Regions from separate parts of the Homo sapiens genome. Here all the other regions are linked to region 1. Evidence: promoter capture Hi-C in 16 types of primary human blood cells and fetal thymus (Javierre and others, 2016). All regions are on one chromosome and are shown on one strand. The core of a region is centred on a gene start or on the middle of the fragment in contact, and the rest is flanking DNA. Distances in the headings are between cores, read along the strand shown. Region 1 holds the start of TTC27 (tetratricopeptide repeat domain 27). Region 2 has its middle 7.9 kb from the start of MIR4430. Region 3 overlaps LTBP1 (latent transforming growth factor beta binding protein 1). Region 4 has its middle 13 kb from the start of MIR4430. Region 5 overlaps RASGRP3 (RAS guanyl releasing protein 3). Region 6 has its middle 6.0 kb from the start of RASGRP3. Region 7 has its middle 24 kb from the start of RASGRP3.

Evidence for each region. The method cuts DNA at HindIII sites, captures the fragments that hold promoters and counts their contacts. A CHiCAGO score of 5 or more calls a contact.
Region 2: a contact is called between a fragment that was not itself captured here and the fragment with the promoter of TTC27 in region 1, in 3 of 17 cell types (M2 macrophages, M0 macrophages and M1 macrophages). The highest score is 8.4, in M2 macrophages.
Region 3: a fragment that was not itself captured here is called in contact with the fragment with the promoter of TTC27 in region 1 in 5 of 17 cell types (M2 macrophages, M1 macrophages, erythroblasts and 2 more); the score reaches 16.9 in M2 macrophages.
Region 4: a fragment that was not itself captured here is called in contact with the fragment with the promoter of TTC27 in region 1 in 3 of 17 cell types (M0 macrophages, M2 macrophages and M1 macrophages); the score reaches 8.7 in M0 macrophages.
Region 5: a fragment that was not itself captured here is called in contact with the fragment with the promoter of TTC27 in region 1 in 1 of 17 cell types (total B cells); the score reaches 8.4 in total B cells.
Region 6: a contact is called between a fragment that was not itself captured here and the fragment with the promoter of TTC27 in region 1, in 2 of 17 cell types (naive B cells and M2 macrophages). The highest score is 7.0, in naive B cells.
Region 7: a contact is called between a fragment that was not itself captured here and the fragment with the promoter of TTC27 in region 1, in 4 of 17 cell types (M1 macrophages, M0 macrophages, M2 macrophages and 1 more). The highest score is 8.1, in M1 macrophages.

The regions. Positions count from the first base shown.
Region 1 is chr2:32,626,325-32,629,537 of GRCh38, reverse strand. TTC27 (tetratricopeptide repeat domain 27) reads right to left here and starts at 1,488. Exons shown (of 20, transcript NM_017735.5): 1 at 1,158-1,488. The coding sequence starts at 1,245. LOC124905985 (a long non-coding RNA gene) reads left to right here and starts at 2,760. Exons shown (of 3, transcript XR_007086273.1): 1 at 2,760-2,905. RefSeq lists a silencer at 999-1,128 and enhancers at 1,379-1,438, 967-1,626, 1,849-1,908, 1,627-2,288. The HindIII fragment of the contact is 6,273 bases long and covers 1-3,213 here.
Region 2 is chr2:33,409,111-33,412,131 of GRCh38, reverse strand. No RefSeq gene overlaps it. Among named protein-coding and RNA genes, the nearest start is that of MIR4430, 7.9 kb to the left of the region's middle. The HindIII fragment of the contact is 4,741 bases long and covers 1-3,021 here.
Region 3 is chr2:33,376,419-33,379,531 of GRCh38, reverse strand. The region is part of intron 31 of LTBP1 (latent transforming growth factor beta binding protein 1); the gene reads right to left. Among named protein-coding and RNA genes, the nearest start is that of MIR4430, 41 kb to the left of the region's middle. The HindIII fragment of the contact is 3,551 bases long and covers 1-3,113 here.
Region 4 is chr2:33,430,423-33,433,370 of GRCh38, reverse strand. No RefSeq gene overlaps it. Among named protein-coding and RNA genes, the nearest start is that of MIR4430, 13 kb to the right of the region's middle. The HindIII fragment of the contact is 1,436 bases long and covers 624-2,059 here.
Region 5 is chr2:33,486,683-33,490,048 of GRCh38, reverse strand. All of the region lies in intron 1 of RASGRP3 (RAS guanyl releasing protein 3), which reads right to left. Among named protein-coding and RNA genes, the nearest start is that of RASGRP3, 12 kb to the right of the region's middle. RefSeq lists an enhancer at 1,400-1,449. The HindIII fragment of the contact is 426 bases long and covers 1,333-1,758 here.
Region 6 is chr2:33,469,161-33,472,139 of GRCh38, reverse strand. It overlaps a transcript of RASGRP3 not described here. Among named protein-coding and RNA genes, the nearest start is that of RASGRP3, 6.0 kb to the left of the region's middle. The HindIII fragment of the contact is 3,306 bases long and covers 1-2,979 here.
Region 7 is chr2:33,451,306-33,454,586 of GRCh38, reverse strand. It overlaps a transcript of RASGRP3 not described here. Among named protein-coding and RNA genes, the nearest start is that of RASGRP3, 24 kb to the left of the region's middle. The HindIII fragment of the contact is 5,053 bases long and covers 1-3,281 here.

The sequences.
Region 1 (3,213 bases), core at 239-2,738:
GCGTGAACCCGGGAGGTGGAGCTTGCAGTGAGCCGAGATCGCGCCACTGCACTCCAGCCTAGGCGACAGAGCGAGACTCTGTCTCAAAAAAATAAAAAAAATAAATCATTGCCGCCTAGGCCGTGCATGGTGGCTCATGGCTGTAATCCCAGCACTTTGGGAGGCCGAGGCGGGTGGATCACCTGAGGTCAGGAGTTCCAGACCAGCCTGACCAACATGATGAAAGCCGTCTCTACTAAAAACACAAAATTAGCCGGGCATGGTGGTGCATGCCTGTAGTCCCAGCTACTTTGGAGGCTGAAGCAGGAGAATCGCTTGAACCGGGGAAGCGGAGGTTGCAGTGAGCCGAGATGGCACCAGTGCACTCCAGCCAGAGCAACAAGAGGGAGACTCCATCCCCCCAAAAAAACAACTTTGCTGCCTCATTTTAGCTCCTCTGCTTACCAACAGTGTGACCTTAAATAAATTACTTAACCAGACCCGGGCGCGGTGGCTCAGGCCTGTAATCCCAGCACTTTGGGAGGCTGAGGCAGGCGAATCATCTGAGGTCAGGAGTTCCAGACCAGCTAGGCCAACATGGTGAAACCTCGACTCTACTAAAAATACAAAATTAGCCGGGCGTGGTGGCGCATGCCTGTAATCCCAGCTACCCTGGAGGCTGAGGCAGGAGAATCACTTGAACCCGGGAGGCGGAGGTTGCAGCGAGCCGAGATCGCGCCATTGCACTCCAGCCTGGGCAAAAAGCAAAACTCCGTCTCAATAAATAAATAAATAAATAAATAAATAAATAAATAAATAGATAAAATAAAATTACTTAACCCAACTGTATTTACAGATCTTCACCGCAAAATGGGATTAAAAATTGAATCTACCTTAAGTATCTACTATAAGCATTAAATGACTGAGTACATGTTAAGGGCTTAGAAAAATAACTGACATTGCCATTGTCATTATTACTGAACCTGGGCGGTAAGAAGTTTTGCGCAAAGAAAGTGAGGACCACGCCCACCATGTCAAAGACTAAACGACCCAAAGCCTCAAGGAATCAGCTAGACTGTGTTAGGGAAAAATGAAGGGAGGGATGAGAATCAGTCGCTGCCATCCCTTTTCCTCACAGTTCCCACGATAGCCTAAGGCCCGGTAGGTGCGCCTCTCACCTGAACCGACGACCCCCTCCTGTTTCCATTGCTGCCGCTCAGCCTCAGTGGGGAATCCCCTCAGAATTGCCAGCTCCGGGGTCCACATCACCCCAGACACCGCTGCAGCCAAAACAGGCTCCCACGAGGGCCACACGGGAGTCAACAAAAGAAAGTGAAAACAGGAGAGTCCAAAGGCGCTGAAATCTAGTGGCGACAGTTACCGTAAATACACCTGCGGCCCTAGAATTCCATGTGCGGATACTACCTCAAGGAGGCGGCCATAACAGCAGCGCGGGGCACCCTGGGAAAAACACGCACGCTCTCTGGTCTGGCTTCCGCCTAGGAGAAGAACCCGAGCTTGAGTAAGGAGCCTGTTGGGTGGTTATGCCCCACCCCGGGGCGGGCAATAGGGGGAGTTGAGGGCGCGGTCGCGCTCAGCCCCGCCCCCAGTGGGACCGCTTCCAAGAACTGTGAACGTGGAAGTGAGTGTGCCTCCCACCGAGGGCTAGGGTTCAAATGCAACTCAAAACGGACGTCTTGGCCAAAGCAGTTTGATTAGAAGGGCTAGAGTTGTGATTCTTAAAGCATTTTGGGTTAGAACGCTCTCGACAACCCGATGAAAACCACAGTCCTTCGCGCAGAGTGCAGGTGGGCCCTTGCTCTCAGCCTAAGGGTACCCTCTCAGGGAATCACAGACCCTCTGACGTGGAGTCGGTGAAGCCCAGGTTGGAACCCCGTCAGCATAGCATGGGTCTTTCGGCGAATGAGCGTGTAAGGAAAGGATCTGGTTTTGACACTGCTCTACATGAATCATGGCCGGGTGGGAAATCTGCCCCTGCCGCTGGTGCAGGGAAGTTTTTGGAACACTGTCGGAACGCTGTAGAAGAGTGATCCCAGGGGTGATCACAAAGAAATTGCAAGGAGACAAACCAGCCTCCGCTGGTACCTTATTTGCACTTCTTTGAATCTTCCTAGCAGCACTCCAAAGAAACAGTTAGAGGGCGGGCGCGGTAGCTCACGCCTGTAATCTCAGCACTTTGGGAGGATGAAGCGGATGGATCACCTGAGGTCAGGAGTTCGAGACCAGCCTGGCCAATATGGTGAAACCCGTCTCTACTAAAAATACAAAAATTAGCCGGACGTAGTGGGGCACCCCTGTAAACCCAGCTACTCGGGACGGTGAGGCGGGGGAATTGCTTGAACCCGGGAGGCGGAGGTTTCAGTGAGCTGAGATGGTGCCACTGCACTCCAGCCTGGGCAATAGGAAAGAGGGAGGGAGGGAGGGAAGAAGGAAGGAAGGGAGGGAGGGAGGGAAGGAGGGAAGGAAAACAGGACTATGGCTTTGTCCCATTGGCTTGACACCTGTACTGAGATATGTCATGTAAGAGCCAGGAGAAAACTGCAGGGTAACTCTGACCACAAGAGCAAAAGCTCTCTGAAAAGAGGCTGACCCGGTACCCAGCTCCAAGGAAGAAGCTAAATAAATGTTAATTCACTTTCTTACTCAGTAAAGAGCCACTCCAGAATGTGAAGGGAGAGGAACTCAGCTCAGCTCATTTCAGCCATTGCCATCAGATACCAAAGGAAGCCGGACCTGACTGTGATTGGAGAAGAGCGGATGCCCTAAAATGTCCTCCCACTGAGAAGTAATTAAAAACTGTTTTTCAGGCCGGGCGCAGTGGCTCACGCCTGTAATCTCAGCACTTTGGGAGGCCGAGGCGGGCGGATCATGAGGTCAGGAGATGGAGACCATCCTGCCTAACAAGGTGAAACCCCATCTCTACTAAAAATATTTTTTTAAAAAATTAGCCGGGCGTAGTGGCGGGCGCCTGTAGTCCCAGCTGCTCAGGAGGCTGCCGCAGGAGAATGGCCTGAACCCAGGAGGCGGAGGTCGCAGTGAGCCAAGATCGCGCCACTGCACTCCAGCCTGGGCAGCAGAGCGAGACTCCGTCTCAAAAAAATAAACAAACAAAAAAAACCCCACTATTTTTCTAGAAAATGATACTTGACCAGGTTGTCTGTTCATTTCCTTAAGTATAAAAGCCAGCACTGTCTAAACTAATTTGATAATTGT
Region 2 (3,021 bases), core at 222-2,721, 780 kb before region 1:
GCACATATACTGTTCTCTGTGTGCTAATGATGTGGCCTCTTAACCAGGGTTTGATTTTTCTGTGCCCATCCACCAATTTGCTCAAAGTCATGGTCTCAGGCAGTGACGTCATTCCTTGACACTAAAAACAAACACCATCCAGATCTCTGTTTACTTTCTCCTGCAGGTTTATGTCCATCGAAGCAGTGCCGATGGGAAAGTGCACAGAGACCACAGGGTTTTGCTTGTACCCAGTGGTTTAAGCAGCTGGTTCCCAGGGACTGGCCCAGACCAAAACAAAACAAAACAAAAAAATAAATTCCAGAGAATGCTATGCAAACTACATAAAATTCTGAAGAATGTGAAGATGAAGGCACACAGTTGGCATCCAGTATAAGGTCAATATCTATATTTAGTCTACATCTATATCTATATTTACTTATTTACTGAAATATAAGGCTTGCCAATTTTACAAGGAAATTCTGGGGGAAAAAAAATCAAAGTAGTTTTCTTCCCACTTGTTTTAAACATTGTTTTTTGTTTTTTGAGGCGGAGTCTCACTCTGTCGCCCAGGCTGGAGCGCAGTGGTGCGATCTCTGCTCACTGCAAGCTCCGCCACCCAGGTTCACGCCATTCTCCTGCCTCAGCCTCCTGAGTAGCTGCGACTACAGGTGCCTGCCACCACACCCAGCTAATTTTTTGTATTTTTAGTAGAGATGGAGTTTCACGGTATTAGCTAGGATGGTCTCGATCTCCTGACCTCGTGATCCACCCACCTCTGCCTTTAAACAGTTTTTTAAGTGATTCTACAGATACAGGTGTCCAGATGAAAACCACTGGTTATGGTTATGTAGCAATGTTCCACTAATTCTACAAATAAATAATATCATGTGGTTAAAAATAAATATTTCGGTCGGGTGTGGTGGCTCACACCTGTAACCCTAGCACTTTGGGAGGTTGAGGCGGGTGGATCACCTGAGGTCAGGAGTTGGAGACCAGCCTGGCCAACATGGCAAAACCCTGTCTCTACTAAAATAACAAAAATTAGCTGGACGTGGTGGCGCACACCTGTAATCCCAGCTACTTGGGATACTGAGGCAGGAGAATCGCTTGAACCCGGGAGGTGGAGGTTGCAGTGAGCCGAGATTGCACCAATGCACTCCAGCCTGGGTGACAGAGTGAGACTCTGAAAAAGAAAGGGAATGGAAGGGAAGGGAAGGGAGAGAGGGACAGAGGGAGAGAGGGAGAGAGGGAGAGAGGGAGAGAAGGAGATAAGGAGAGAGAGAAAGATTTCAGTATCTGTGACTTTTGGCACTGAGTAGACTATAAAACAAAATGAATTTATTGGTAAATGAAATCCTATATCCTACATAGAATACTATAGAGATATCAATACAATCTTCCAACAAATAATGGAAAGCAAAAGTAAATAACTTGAAATAAATTTGAATAAACTTTCATAAACACTAATAGAAATGAACTAGCAAAACGGTATATGAACAATATTCTTTTTTTTTTTTTTTTTTTTTTGAGGTGGAGTTTTGCTCTTGTCACCCAGGCTGAAGTGCAATGGCATGATCTCGGCTCCATGCAACCTTCGCCTCCCAGGTTCAAGCAATTCTTCTGCCTCAGCCTCCCTAGTAGCTGGGATTACAGGCCCCCGCCACCATACCTGGCTAATTTTTGTATTTTTGGTAGAGGTGGGGTTTCACCATGTTGGGCAGGCTGGCCAGGCTGGTCTTGAACTCCCAACTTCAGGTGATCCACCCACCTCGGCCTCCCAAAGTGCTGGGATTACAGGCGTGAGCCACTGCACCTGGCCAACAATTTTCTATACAATAGCCAAAGTACCTGAAACCAAAGGCGTCAGTAAAAACTTGGGACAAAGCATCCAGCAAGAAAACAATGTGAAGGATGCCTATTTCAAGCTAATACACACAGTAAAAGTAAATATTTTACTATTAGTGTATGATAAACACAGAAAAGTTAATGGATTCTAATACAATTGGACTCTTACACTACAGCAGTGCTTCCATTGGCTCACTGGACAACATCCACTTGCTATACTCTGCCACTAGAGAATCTCACTATTGCTATTGTCTGCCTGTTTTCTACTTCTCCCTCCCTCATCCCCTCTCCAGGTTGTTGAGCGTTTTGTCTTCAATGTAGGCACATTGCATGTGGTGTGGGGTGGCTAAGCTGCCAGAATAAATGAAATAACTTTGCTCTTCCTATATGCTAGGATACTGCATTTGTCTGTCCAGTGTCTCTGAACTGAATGCTTCCTAGGCTAACTCCACTGGAAATATGTTTAACTCATGGTTTTAATTTTGCACCAAGGTATGCACTTGGAGTTACATACTGCTTAAGATAAATCAATTTATAATTTCCGGTAGTTGGCTAACTTAATTTCCTGGCTAAATGGGGAATAATAAAATATCTTATTATCTCAATAAATCAATGAAAATTTTTGCTAATCCTGAGAGGCCTGGGTTTCTGGGATGACCCACTGGGTAGTGCTGTCAAGCAGAGGCCAGTTCAGGCATGTTTCAAAGGCAGAGGTTTATTCTTGAGTTATAATTGGTTTCTGTGGGTAACAAAGGCAAAAGGAATTTTTTCTTTAGCTGCAAAAAAAAAAAAAAAAAACCCTCAATAAAGCTCAACACTTACATTCACATTAAGCCCATTAGCAAATTAGGGATGAAAGGAACATTCTTTACCCTAGAAAAGGTATACATAAAAACATTTAAGCATGCATTATATTTAATAGAGCAACAGTAAAAGGATTTTCTTTAAAATCAGTATACCTGCTATCATCACTCTGTAATTCAATATTGCCCTGTAAGTTTTAACTAGTTTAATAGGCATGAAAATTTAAAATATGAAGACTGGAAAGGAAGAAACAAAATTGCCATTCACAGAATCCCCAAATAATCTTAGGATAAATTATTTGAATTGAGAAGAGCATTTAGCAAGGTTGTGATCAGTATCTAAAAGTCAATTGTATTTCAATACACCAGAAACAAATATCAAACACAAATC
Region 3 (3,113 bases), core at 123-2,622, 750 kb before region 1:
AATGCATTAAAAGTAATGGCAGGGCCGGGCACGGTGGCTCATGCCTATGAATCCCAGCACTTTGGGAGGCCGAGGTGGGTGGATCACAACGTCAGGAGATTGAGACCATCCTGGCTAACAAGGTAAAACCCTCTCTCTAATAAAAATACAAAAAATTAGCTGGGCATGGTGGCAGGCACCTGTAGTCCCAGCTCCTCAGGAGGCTGAGGCAGGAGAATTGCTTGAACCTGGGAGGCGGAGCTTGCAGTGAGCCAAGATTGCACCACTGCACTCCAGCCTGGGCAACAGAATGAGACTCTGTCTTGGAAAAAGAAAAAAAAAAAAAAAAAAAAAAAGCAATGGCAAAAACTGAAATTACTTTTGCACCAACCTAGTATTTTCTTGAAATGAGCAGTGTACAATCAGCACAACTGCTCAAAACAGCTCAGCCTGCCACTGAGACTTGAAGCCCAGAAGGAAGCATAAAGAAGGCTTTGTTGTGTCAGAAGCCCTCCCAATGAGCTAATGTTTTGTAATCTGCTTCTTTCTTAAGGTAGTGGCTACTGATGCTTAGCAGAACAATTACTTTCTAGCTTCTGCTCCCTGCAGATTTGTAAATACAAGAACCTGGTCATTCTAAGAACTTTCTAGATGTTTTTCTCCCAATCATAAGGGGCACAATCTGTCTGCGGCATAAAAGGAGAATAAAATTTACTTCATCCCTCCTCTGCCCGGCTTGCCTGCTCTGGCCATGAGGTCACTGTTTAACAGACATGGGCAGTCAGCAGCTTTGTTCTAGCCATAGTTGTATTATTAGGTTCGTTAAGAAGAGGTCAAAAGAAATTCAAACGTTAGTTGAATTCAAAACCTCAAACTTAGAACAGTGCTTAAGCAATTATGCACAGTGATTTTCTCAAAGTCAGACTCATCACAGTTCATGCTTCTTAGAGTATGCTTCAACTAGCCCTATTTTCAAAAGGAAAAAAAGAAGAGCAAATTTTATTTAAAAGATGTGAAAGTATGCTGGGCGTGGTGACTCACGCCTGTAATCCTAGCACTTTGGGAGGCTGAGGCGGGTGGATTGCCTGAGCTCAGGAGTTTGAAACCAGCCTGGGCAACATGGTGAAACCCCATTTCTACTAAAATAATAATAAAAAATATTAGCCAGGTGTGGTGGTGTGAGCCTGTAGTCCCAGCTACTCGGGAGGCTGTGGCAGGTGAATCGCTTGAACCCAGGAGGCAGAAGTTTCAGTGAGCCGAGATCGTGCCAGTGCACTCCAGCCTGGGCAACAGAGCGAGACTCTGTCTCCAAAACAAACAAACAAACAAAACACACACACACACACACACACACACACACACACACATATATATATATATGAAAGTAAAATGTTCACTAGACCAAATCATTTAGTATCATACTGAATGGGCGATTCTAGAAAACGGAATGCCTATTCATAATCTCTGATTTCACAGGAGAAAGGTAAAACTGCTAAGACTTTTACTTTTGAGATAAATATGATTGCTTGTTGATATGGTTTGACTTTGTGTCCCCACCCAAATCTCATCTTGAATTGTAATCCCGACCTGGTGGGAGGTGACTGGATCATGGGGCAGTTTCCCCCACGCTGTTCTCATGATAGTGAGGGAGTTCTCAGGAGAGTTGATGGTTTCAAGTGTGGCACTTCCTCGCTCTTTCTCTCCTTCTGTCCTGTCGCCAGGTAAGAAGTGTCTGGCTTTGCCTTCTGCCACAATTATAAGTCTCCTGAGGCCTCCCCAGCCATGAAGAACTGTTCTTTATAAATTACCCATCTCAGGTAGTATCTTTATAGCAGTGTAAAAACAGACTGATACACTTGTTAACTAAAAATAAGTGTTGCTTTTTAGGATCAGATTGTTTACATGCATGCCTGAATTTCTCTCCTTTCGCTCAAACTAGAAAGATTTTAATAGGACATCAGTAAGATTATTATCATAATGAAATTTATTTTCTATTCAGAGTATTTTTTATAACAGAGAGTGGCCAAATACTTTCCCTAGCACTTCCATGCAGTATAGCTCTTAGGAAAAGTGCCATGAATACAACTGACACTCCAAGGCTCAAGCTGTACAAGAAGTAAAATTTCAGAAGTGCTCATGTCACCAACGAGTAACCCATTAATCAAACTTCTCTCGCCTTGAACTGTTCTCTAATGGCTGGTGAGGACACTGAGGCAGTAGCTTCAATCAGCTTTCAAAACAGAGAGTTCATGCTACAGTGCAGTCTAGCAAGGTCCACTGGTCCTCCCTGGTCGGCGTTCCAAATACTTGCTGACTCACCCGCAATCCAGGGATTTGGGGTTTGGGAATGGCAGCTTGTTCCAGGACACTCCTCCAGAGCTCTGTCTTCAGCAGTTTAGCAAGAAATGAAGGAGTAAGTTTTCCCCTCTATCAGGGTTTTTAAAAATTTTATTTTAACTATTCTCACCTTGCGGCAAACCATGTTTGCTTTTCTTCTGCTTTCAATGACTACAATAGGATCATAACTGGAATGTGGCTTCCTTGCCCATTGCTTTCTTTCCTTCCAATGCACCTGCCCAAACATGGTTATTTTTTAAAAACACACAATTTAGCATCTAGTATTTTTCCTCTTATGTACGTACTGTCCCTGCTTTTTGTACCTGGCTTCTCTGCCATTCATTCCTGCTTATTTGGCCCCTTTCACAAATCCAGTACCTCTTCCCCAGTTTAGTAAAGGAGGCCCTGACCATCCATAAAAGCCCCATCCTGCTGGCAGCTATTGATCTACTAGGGAATCTCAGTGGGGTGAGGATATCCCCTTAGGAGAAGGTATCTGATTCCTACGGGAGGGCATGTATAGTTGGATAAAAGGTCCTATTTATTTTTTCTGTCCTATTATTCCCTTGAAAGTCACTGCAATGGAAGATACTGATTATAAAAAAACACACATGAGAAACACCTGGGATCCCGTTAGCACGGAAGCAAGAAGGTGCTCCGCATCCTATGGTGGGCAGGGCAGACTCATTACTGAGAGGATGCAGGTCCCAAGTCCTGGTTTTCATTCTCTCATTTCCAACTGGCAATCAGGGTCCTGAATTTTTTCAGCCACTAACCTCAGCTGGCCTAACACAGTA
Region 4 (2,948 bases), core at 92-2,591, 800 kb before region 1:
GGAATAATGAAAAGGTGGTTGAAAGTTAGGAAGGACTTCTCCATCTTAAAAATAAAATATAAGAGTTACCAACTCTTTGAAAGAGCTAGAAGACTTAGTGGGATAGAAAAAAAGCTTTTCCATTAATTTAATTGAAGTTGATTTGTGTTCATCAGTAGTTTATTTAGACTGATTCTCAGCAAACATAATGTTAAAGTTACCTTGCAAATTAGAAAACTCTTGGCACAAATAAAACAGTGCACAATATCTCCCAAGAGAAGCCCAGCCTTGGTAAAGTTCAGTTGGAAAATCTAAACCAGACTACCTTCCCTGCACTAGACTTTGGTTTCTGTTGGTATTCTGTCACTCTGCCATGCACCTAAAATAAAACAGCATGAGTTTTTGTGTAACAACAACAACAAAAAAGACAACTTGAGACTCGCCGATAATAAAATCTAGAGCTAGTTCAGTTTTGTTGAAGCTAAAATCTGATGTCATAATAACTAAAGGAAATTCTAATTGGTGTTATGGTAAAAGTTTTCCTACTAATTCTGAAACACAGACTCTCATTTTGCTGTTTCTGCTAGTTGTATATTCCTTTGGGAAATGCCTTTGGACTCAGCGCTAAGGTTGTTTGTGAAGCTTTGGAGGCAAAGAAGAAGCAAAACCATCACTGGAAGTAAAATACACAGGAAACAAAACAGACCGTGGTAGAGACAGCTCATGGCACCCATCTGAAGGCAAAAGGAACTACCATGGGCGCCGACAGCACGCGCACCTAAATATTAGCTGATTGTGTGCAGTATTTGTAAGGAAGGAAGGAAGAAACGAGGGGAGAGAGCAGGGCAATGGAACTGATTTATCCAACAACAATTAAACTTTTCATTTTGGCAGTCACTGTAGTCGAGTAAAAAGCCAAGCAGTAGGTTGGTTACTGAATTAATAGTCTATACAGGTTCCTTACTTATACAATAGATTAGTTCGAACTCACAATGGGGTCAATATACTCCATACTCCCCTGAAACACATAATTATGCAATTGAGTTTATATTAAGACTGGCAAGGTGAACACAACCATCAGCTTTATAATTCTAACAAATTGTAGGGTGCAAATTCACACTGGTTAGATGAAGCAAGTTAAAAACAACTGAGTATTCAGAATGACCAAGAAAATCTCTCTTCGTTGCTGCCACTGAAGAAGCCAGCTGCCTATGAAGAAGACCACTTGGTAAAGAACTGAGGGTAGCTTCCCTCCAACAGCCACCAAGAAACTGAAGCCCTTTAGTTTGACAGCCTGCAAGGAACTGAACGTTGCCAATAACCACATGAGCTTGGAAGCACATCATTCCCCAGTCGAGCCTCAGATGACCAAAGTTCCAGCTAATACCTTCTTGCAGCCTTTTAAGACCATGAGGCAGTGACCCAGCTAATCCATGTCTGGCTAAGCCAGCTATAGGAGAGGAGCTCCTATCAAGATGATTTGCAGTCTTATGTAAGGTAATCATGTACATGTGATCCTGGACACTCAAGTCACCTTTGCTGCATTCAGCTGGCTAGAAGCAAGTCACAAGTCCTTCCTGTGATCAGGTGAGGGATCAAGGCTGTGACTACCAAGAGTGGGATTGTGAGGGCCCCCTGTTTTCTGTCTGACACAATGGATGACTGACCTAGAAAGAAGAAAGTAGACATACAGACCATCCTGGCTAACACAGTGGAACCCCATCTCTACTAAAAATACAAAAAATTAGCTGGGCATGGTGATGGGCACCTGTAGTCCCAGCTACCTGGGAGGCTGAGGCAGGAGAATGGTGTGAACCCGGGAGGCGGAGCTTGCAGTGAGCTGAGATCGCGCCACTGCACTCCAGCCTGAGCGACAGAGTGAGACTCCGTCTCAAAAAAACAAGCAAACAAACAAAAAAGAAAGTAGACATCATACACCAGGTGGTTAATATAGGACAGTTAGGGACAGTGCTACCCAAAGGTAAAATAGACAAAACAACTTAAGTTTTCTTCTTTCAAACCAGTGGGAAGTGCACTGCCTTGAGAAAGATCAGGGCATCTCTCTACCGTTACACAAGCTTGAGCAACTCAGGGACCTAAATGTCCTCATGCTCTATCTTTGAGGTCCTTTCAGTGCTAAGCTTCTGTGACCTCAGACCTTCCTTTCCAAGCCTCTCAAGACATTTTGGAATGCCACAAATTCTGGCTGTATTCATACAAAGTGCTGTGATAACCAGTGTGTCACTGTTGACATCTTTATAGAACAATACTGAGGAGAAAGAAAACATTTAATAGATCAGTCCTCTAGAGAAGTTAAAAGTCAAATCCATTACGGTGTTACCCTCTGATCCAATTTTTGATTTTCCATTTGTTTATATTTCTAAAGCATGATGTCATATAAAAAATACACAAGACAAAACCACTATAAACTTCACTTTTTACAGGCAAATTTGGGGCTAAAAATTATGTTCTATGTGGGGAGCAAACTACATTTCACATCCAAGTAATATTGAGTACATCAAGAAGTTACTTTGGCAGTGTAAACTCACATCCTCAGGATTAGAAAGGGCTTTCAAAGTCATCTTTTTAGCCACCTATCTGACAGGCAAATATCTTCCAGAACATGAAGAACAAATTATCTTATTATTTCTAAGTAGAAACTGATAGACTGTCATTATACTTCCTTGTGATGTCATAAACGTAAATGACTCTGTTAAAAATAAAATTATGAATTTAATCTACATAAGGCGAATCCAAACGCTTGCTCAATATATCAGTGAGCTCTTTCTTCAGGCAAAACATTAAGTTCTAAAGTATATGGAATTTTAAACATATATTCACAGTTATTCTTCTGTGGACAGACTACACAATGACATTATAAATATTCTCTAATACCTCATTAAGAACACAGATTAAAAGCTGTAAATCAGGTTGAAACTAGGCAGGCTTAATTTCCATTTAGAGGCTGA
Region 5 (3,366 bases), core at 296-2,795, 860 kb before region 1:
GAATCACATAAATCATAGAGATATACAGTCATCAGGTTGGCAGCAAGAGTGTATCAAATCAGCCTGCTCTGATGCCCTCAGTTCTCTTTTCCTGAGTTTTTGAAGATGAAAAAAGCCAGAAACAGAGAAATGAACTTCCCAAGTCCCAGGATCAACTGTCCCATGACTTATGACCTAAAGATCCCTTGTTCTGTCCTCATCAACAATCTGTCAACTGGGAGCAGTGGCTCACACCTGTAATCCCAGCACATGGGGAGGCTGAGGCAGGAGGAGTGCTTGAGCTCACAAGTTCAAGACCAGTCTGGCCAACATGGTGAAACCCCCTTCTCTACAAATGATACAAAAATTAGTTGGGTGTGGTGGTGCCTGCCTATAGTCCCAGCAACTTGGGAGGCAGAGAGGTCACAGTGAGCTGAGATTCCACCACTGCACTCCAGCCTGGGCAATAGAGCCAGATCTTGCCAAAAAAATAAAAAATAAAAATAAAACCCACAAAAGAAACAACAATGTGTCCCTCATTGCTTTGAATATTTTCTGCTGACTAAATATCAGTATCCTTGCCTGCCAACATTTGATCTTTTGGACACCAAAGAGTGCTGTCAGCCTGTGTTGTGAACCATTCAACTTGGCTTTTCATTCTGAAGGACTGGCCATTTGACATCTCATCTCCACCCTGACGCCGATGCAGCAGTATTTCTGCAAGTGTATTAGGCCATCATCACTTACTGCTCAGCAGCAGACAAGCAAAAATGTTGCATGTAACTCATCTAAAGTGTCTTTGAAGGCATGTTTGCGTGAGATTTTTAATTGTTTCACATAGATCAGGATTTCTCAACCTTGGTACTATTGACATATTTGGTTGGATAATTGATTGTCATGCAGGGCTGTCGTGAGCATTTTGGGATGTTTAGCAGCATCGTTGGTCTCTACTAACTAGATGCCAGTAATACTCCACTGCCACTCCCAGTAGAGACTACCAAAAATGTCCCCAGACATTGCCAAATGTCCTTCGGAAGGCAAAATCACTCTCAGTTGAGAACCACTGATATAGACTGATGCCATAACATCAAAATGGAAACCAGAAAAAAAAAAAATCGGTCAAACCCCTAAAATCTTTTCTAGTATCAGAATGTCTGTTTCTTGTGTAGGCAAATGCCTGGCTATTTGACTGAGTTTTTCAGTTTCCAAATGAATACTCGATATCTTCATCAACAAAAAACATTTGAATGAACATGTCTTTTAGACATCATCTCAACTTGATTTTTAATTCTTGAACCAATCAGCAAGATTTAACATGTCAGAATTTGACATAATTGAGAACATTTTAAAGCTTTCTAGGTCCAAATGTATTCCCCGCCTGACTAACTGGTGGATTTTGGCCCTTGTTTTATTCCTGTGTTAATCATTTTCAGTTGTGTTTTATTTTTGCTTTTTGTCATCAGCTGCTTTAATCCTCTTCTGGAGGAAGTCAGAGGATAAATATGAACACAGGCATTTTTTTTCCATTGTGTATGGAGAGTTCTTTTTTTGTGAGAGCATTTTACCTCCTTTCCTACGGCCCAGCTACTTGGTCCCATTGAGCCTTGAGCAATCTCACAATGACTTGATATAGAAAGCATTACCTTTTTACTAATAAAGCATCTTCTGTGTTCCATTATTACTATTCAGAGTTGTTAGAGGTAAGGAGTGATGCTCAGTGAGAAACTATTAGAAGTAATTTGTTCTAGTACCAGCTCTGTCAGTTACTGGCAAAAAGCTTGCATTTCTAGGTGTCAGTTTCTTTACATTCAAATTCAATTAACACTTATTGAGAGAAACGTGCTTTGCCAGGACAATACTTGATAGTTACTCAAAGGCTGTTTTGTAGTAGGATGTGGCTGCTCTGTATGGCAACAACTTTTGAAAATCAAGAGGTTCTCAGTTTCTTGCTTTCATAAATAATCGAGTAAGAATCAGCCATGAATTGTGTTAATCTTTCTTGAATCACGGCTTTTCCCATTGAGAAAATAAATGTATAAGTTTAATCTCTCTTGTGTGAAATATAAATTCTGCAATAACTAACTCTAGTTGGTAATATACATATATACGTGATGAAATGTTTAGGAATGAAGTGTACTGCTGTCTGCAACTATGTTGCCCAGGCTGGTCTCAGAATTCCCGAGCTCAAGTGATCCTCCTGCTTCAGCCTCTCAAAGCGCTAGAATTACAAGCATGAGCCACCATGGCTGGCATTAATGGCTTTCTTAAGGTGCAGCAATCAGAATTATTCCAAATGCTCTGAGTCTCAAAGTTTTGTTGTTTTCTGGAGATGAGGTCTCACTATGTTGCCCAAACTGGCTTCAAACTTCTGGACTCCAGCAATCCTCCTGCCTCAGCCTTCCAAGTAGCTAGGACTACAGGTGGAAATCTCAAACTTTTGTTTGAGGGTAATAGGAAGATATTTTTTGATTTGTTTCCTGTAGTCTCTGTATAATGCTGAACCAGGCTAACTGCTTTTCAAGGAATCCTTTCCCTATATAGGTTAATGGCATATTCATATGCTGATTATTCAAATTAAAACCTCCAAAACTTCTTTAACTCCCTCCTTTCCTGCACACCCAAATACAATTAATCTCAAGAACTATCAACTTTACCTTTTAAACATTTTGAAAATTCTTCCACCCTCTCTATTATCATTGTCTTTGTTCAAACCTATCTTTGAAGTCTTCTTTTGGTATTTGGTATTTTTCTTTCTCTGATCTGTCGTCCTTATTGCCTTCAGAAATTTTTTTCCAGAATGCAAATGTATTCATGTCATCCCTCTACTTGACAAACTACAATAATAGTTAAGAATTATTATTAATTATTTTGCATGTCTGAATGACGTTGTGAACTTTTTAAGAGAACTTATCTTTTAGAAACACATACTAAAATATTTACGGATGGAATGATGAAATATCTGGGATTTACTTCAAAGCTAATATGGGAAGGGGAGAACATCGGTAGGGATATATAAATTAAATAAGAATGACCATGAATTGAAAATTGTTAAAGTTAGATAATAAATGGGGGTTAATTATCATTTATTTTGTCTATTTTTATATATGGTTGAAATTTGCCATATATAAATCGGTTCTCAAAAATACCGACATGCTTCAGAAGGGCAAACACTACTGTTAACCACCCAGAACCACCTTATCTTTGCTCCTTTTCTCCCGTCCCTCTTCCAACATGTAATCTATGATTCAGCTCTATCAAGTTACACATTAGTCCTGGAATGCACTGTTTCAAATATAGTCTTTTTCTTCTTGAACAATGACTTTTTATCCTTTTATACCCAGCTTAAATGTCACCAACCCAAGGGAATCATCCCTGGTTCATCCTGAT
Region 6 (2,979 bases), core at 324-2,823, 840 kb before region 1:
ATAAATGAATAATTAAAGAGAAGGATCTTCTGTCTAGCCCATTAAGAAAAAAATATAAGAAAAGTTTGCAAAACTTGATTTTATATTAGGCTACCAAAAAAAAATTGTAAGTAATTTCTTTCCAAAAGAAATTGGCCATATTCTGTGATCACACTGTAATAAAACTATACATTAATTACAAAAGTGTAAGTCAAAAAGACCCCACGCTCTTGGGGAAACTTTAGAGTTCTTAAAAAAAAAAATCATTGATTGGAGAATAAATTAAAAACACAATTACAGAATGAATGCTTAGAAGGTTTCAGTGATGAGAATACCACATATCAAATATTGGGAGACATAGCCAAAATAATAATTAGAAGCAAACTGACCCAGGAAGAAGTCAAAAAACAACAGATCAGTAACCATGGAAAAATGTAAAAGTTAATAAGGAATTATTTCCAAAAAAAGCTCTTAGTTCAGATTACTTACACAATCAAGTTCTAACTGAGCTTCAAGCAGAATTAACTCCCATGGTATATGAAGTGTTCAAGTGGACAAAAGTAACAGAAAGCTAACATAATACCCTGTCTTAAAAAAAAAAACTGATAAAGCATAATAAAGAAAACCACAGACTAACTTCATACGTAAACATAGGTTGCCCTAAAGATGTAAAAAATAAGGCTGGGAATAGTGGCTCACCCCTGTAACCCCAGTGCTTTGGGAGGCCAAGGTGGCAGGATCACCTGAAGCCAGGAGTTTGAGATCAGCAGGGGCAACATAGCGAGACTCCATCTCTACAAAAAAAAAAAAAAAAAAAAATAGCCCAGTGTGATGGCAGATGCCTATAGTCCTACCAACCTGGGAGGATGAGGCAGGAGGATCACTTGAGCCTAGGGGATCAAAGCTGCAGTAAGGTATGATCACACCACTGCACTCCAGACTGGGCAACAGAGAAAAACTTTTGGATTGCCACAATAATCTTGAAAAATCATTTGATAAAATTCAATATCAATTTTTTAATTAATAAAACAAAATTAAAAGACTGATTCTTAACATGATACTCATGTTAATTCAAATCTCAAATCAAACATAGGCATCATACTTAATGGTAAAATACTGGAAGTATTAATGTTAAAATCAGAAACAAGAAAAGCATGCTCATTATCACTACCATCCATTTAACACTGTTCTAGACATTTGAGCCACTGCAACCAGGCAAGAAAAAGAAACTAAAGAAGAATTTTATGAGAAAAATGGAGACAAAAGTATTCAACCTGCAGATTGAGTAATATTCATTTTCTCAATAGAACAAACTAAAATTTGCTTCTAAATAATTAAAAAGTGAGGTGAACAGTTACAAATAAATATACAAAATAAGTATACAAAATTAATTGTTCTGGCCACGGAACAATTATACAGAAATATATGAAATTTTCCATATAACCCACAAAAACTTAGAAAACATAATAGAAAATAATTCTTGGCCGGGCGTGGTGGCTCACACCCATAATCCCAGCACTTTGGGAGGCCGAGGAGGGTGGATCACAAGGTCAGGAGATCGAGACTATCCTGGCTAACACGGTGAAACCCTGTCTCTACTAAAAATACAAAAAATTAGCCGGGCATGGTGGCGGGCGCCTGTAGTCCCAGCTACTCGGGAGGCTGAGGCAGGAAAATGGCGTGAACCCGTCAGGCGGAGCTTGCAGTGAGCTGAGATCGCGCCACTGCACTCCAGCCTGGGCAACAGAGTGAGACTCCATCTCAAAAAAAAAAAAAAAAATTCTTAGTTATAGTATTATTTATAATAGCAACAACAACAATAACATTTCTAGGAATAAAAAAAGTGAATAACCTATTTAAAAATGTAACTTTACTGAGAAAATTAAAAACAGTTTGATACATTTCTGTATTGGAAAGTTTTTCTGTACTGGAAAACTTAACATTGTAAATATATTAATTCTCCCTCAAATTAATTTATAAATATAATCAAATTTTGCTTAAAATCCCAAATAAATTTTTCAAACAGGTCAAAAATCCTCAAGTTTATTTTAAAGAATAAAAAACTGAGAATGGTAAAGAAAATTTTAGAAAAGAACCACAAGGGAGATATTAGGTACTAAATAGGCTAAAAATAACGTGAATTTAAAGTTTGGTACTAGTGCCAAAAGAACTAGAGCAATGGAACAGAGCCAAAAGCCCAGAAATACACATAGAAGAACTACAGTAAAATGTTTATTGTATTTGTTCAATATGGTTTTTAAACCCAGTGGGAAAAGAATAAACTATTCAAAAACAGGTTAAATCATTAACTATTCGGAAAAATTAAGATGCAATCATTACTTCATGCCATACACAAAGTAAAAGCATGTTAGACTAAAGAGTTAAACATAAAAACGCTGTACAGCAGCACGGTGGCTCATGCCTGTAAACCCAGCACTTTGGGAGGCCGAGGTGGGCAGATCATCTAAGGTCAGGAGTTTGAGACCAGCCTGGGCAACATGGTGAAACCCCTTCTCTACCAAAAATATAAAAAATTAGCTGGGCATGGTGGCCCATATCTGTAGTCTCAGCTACTAGGGAGGCTGAGGCAGGAGAATCACTTGAGCCCAGGAGGTGGAGGTTGCAGTGAGTCAAGATCGCGCCACTGCACTCAGCCTGGGTAACAGAATGAGACTCCATGTCAAAAAAAAAAAAAAAATCACATACAAACTTGAAGAGAATCACATGATTGGTTTTATAATCTTAAAATTGTTTTAATCATGATTAAATACTTTTGTCCTGAAAACGTTTCAATCACAGTCACAACAGAAGGAGCTATAAAGATAAAAGTTCACGATTTAAACCATAAAATATAAAACATATATGTAAAATATAATCCAACGGTAATCAAAATTAACCTACAAATAATAAAATGAGATTCAAAAGTGAAATACGTATGGTAAAGGGTTAATGGTCTTAACATATAAATAGCATTTACAATTAACAACTGGATATTAATAA
Region 7 (3,281 bases), core at 712-3,211, 820 kb before region 1:
TCAAAAGGAAACAAAGGTAGATAATGTGTGTGTTAAGCCCGTCTTCAGCTGGAAGCTCAAAATCTTTATAATACACTCATTGCTTTTTATAATATTCTTAATCCATTTTGATGTCTCTGGCCCTTGGGGCCCAAATACTGCCATGCCTACCCCAGACCCTCTACCTTGGTCACATCTTTCCAGTCTTATGCTCTATATTTAAAACCATCCCTCCTCCCATAAAAATTCTCCTTTCCTTAGTTACAGGGTTACATCAAACAGAGAAAAGTATAGATGCATTGATGTGTCATATCAAAGTAACAGGAATTGACTCACTCCTCTCTGGACTATGTATGGCTTTTTAAAAAATAACTTTACTTAAAAAGTAGAAGAAGAAGACAGTGAAAATACAGCCATTTCAATCCACAGAGACAACTTCAAAAGAAACCAAACCTGCTGACACCTTGATCTTGAACTTGACATCAGTGTTAAATCAAAGTAACAAGAATTGACTCACTCCTCTCTGGACTATGTATGGCTTTTAAAAAAATAACTTTTACTTAAAAGAAGAAGATGACTGTGAAAAACACAGCCATCTCAATCCACAGAGACAACTTCAAGAGAAACCAAACCTGCTGACACCTTGATTTTGAGCTTCAGCCTCCAGGATAGTGAAAAATAAATTTCTCTTGTTTAACCCAAAAAAACCCCCACTTTTATTGATTTGTATGTGTGTAATTTCAAAAATCATATATGTTTATCATAAAAAACTTTTAAAGTATAGAAAAGTACAAAGGAGAAAAATAAGATCAATTTTAATTACATCTTTTATAACATTATTTTGGCATATACATGTGATAATCTGCAGATGGCCTCCCAAGATCCTTACATATCCTCATGTAGTCCTTGCTCATGCTGAATCAGGACTGACCCTGAGTGACCAATAGGATACATGAAAAGTGATGACGTATGACTTCCAAGGCAAGGTCATAAAAAACCTTGCATCTTTCATCTTGGTTTCTTGAATCTCTCACTCTGAAAGAAGCCAGTCAGATGCCACCTTATAAGGGTATCCAATAAGACCCATGGAGAAGTCCACGAAGAAAGGAACTGAAGTCTCAGCTAACAGCCAGCACCAACATGCCAGCCATATAAGTGAGCCACCTCAAAAGCAGACCTCAGCAAGATGGTGCAATAGTATTTTCCAGCACATATCCCCTTACAGAAACACCAATTTGAACAACTATCCATGCATGAATGTACCTTCTCAAGAACTAAAGAATCCCAGTTGAGATCAAAAACCCTTTGATCTCATCTTAATGGGGTTTCAAAAGGAAACAAAGGTAGATAATGTGTGTGTTAAGCCCGTCTTCAGCTGGAAGCTCAAAATCTTTATAATACACTCATTGCTTTTTAAAATATTCTTAATCCATTTTGATGTCTCTGGCCCTTGGGGCACAAATACTGCCATGCCTACCCCAGTACAGAAATAAGAAAAGGCACATTGAAGAGGGCGAGAAAGAGTGTCATATTACTGATATCATCCCTCCCCCAAGGGGTGCACAGCACAGAGAAAGATACCTTCCCTGTGGGGGAAGGAGAGTGAACTGAACACCCTACTTTGCTATGGACCACAGCATCGGGCCCACTTCAGTGAAATCCAGTGCCAGAGCAGCCCTCATGATCCCAGGCTCTAGGCTAGCACCTGTGGATAAGGGCATCCAGGGCTACCCTAATGCTGGGCCAGCCCCTATGGCCCCAGGCTGCAAGCAGGCCTCTATAGCATCAGGCTGCAGCTCCATTCAAGCACCACACCAATACAACAGCACTAGGCTCTACACCCAGAGGCATGTCTGCCACAGCAGCTCAACCTCTAGGCCAACCCCTGCAGACACAGGCTTTAGGCAAGTCCCAGTAACCAGGCTAGCCCTTGTGTGGACTCAGGCTCCAGGCCCATCCTAGAACAAAGTGGGCCTCTATGAACTCAGGCTCAAGGTCCATCTCATGGACAGGATGGCCCCCATGAACCTAGACTTCAGGCCAGCCCCTGCAAACACAGGGTCCAGATTCACTCCCATGAACCCAGAATCGAGGCCCACCCCAGGAGATGCAAGCTCCAGGCCTTCCTGCCTGCTGACTCAGGCACCAAGGCAACTTGCCTGAGAATACAGGAGCAAGTCTGCCCTCAGATTCCACCAAACAACCCACCCAGAATCTCTAGATAGACTGGTGAGAGCTTTCCAAAGCCAATATGTAAAAGGTAGAACAGGTGCTTACTTCTTCATATGCATAGACATCAATATATAGCCACAAAGATAGTGAATAATAAGGGAAACACCACCACCAAACAACAAAATTAAGTAACTGACCCTAAATAAATGGAGATCTATGAACTGCCTGTCAGAGAATTCAAAATAATCATCTTAACAGAGCTCAGTGAGCTATAAGAGAATACAGATAACTAAATCAAATCATGAAAACAATATGAAAGCAAAATAGGGGATTCGATGAGGGTATAGAAACCATAAAAAAGAACAAGGCAGAAATTCTGGATCTAAAGAACATAGTGATGGAACTGAAAATTCCATAGAGAGCTTCAACAGTAGCCTCAATCAAGCAGAAAAAAGAATCAGTGAGCTCAAAGACAGATCATTTGAAATATTCAGCCAGAGAAACAACAACAACAACAAAGAAGAAGTAAGAATGAAAAAAGCCTATAGGATTTATGAAACAATATCAAGCAATCCAATATATACATTAGGGGATTCACAAAAGTAGCAAAGAAAGAAAAAAGAGCAGAATGCTTAGGTAAAGAAATAATGATAAGAAACTTCCCAAATCTGGAGAGGCAAATGAGCATCCAGATCTATGAAGCCCAAATAGCCCCAAGCAGATTAAATACAGAGATCTTCACCAAGACACATTACAATCAAATTCTCAAAAGACAAAGAAAAAACTTTGAAAGCAGCAGTAAATGAAATCGAACCCTTACGTTACATACAAAAATGAACTCAAAATAGATTAAAACTTAAACTCAAAATAGATTAAAAACTTAAACTTAACACCTGAAAACTATAAAACTACTACAAGAAAAGATAGGGGAATATCTTCTTGTCATTGGTCTCGGCAATGATTTCTTAGATATGACTCCAAAAGCACAGGCAACAAAAGTAAACACAGAGAGTTGAGATTGCATCAGACAAAAATGCTTCTGCACAGCAAATAATCAACAGACTGTAGAGACAGCCTGTGGGATGGTAGAAAATATTTGAAAACTATGTATTATATCTGATAAGGGACCA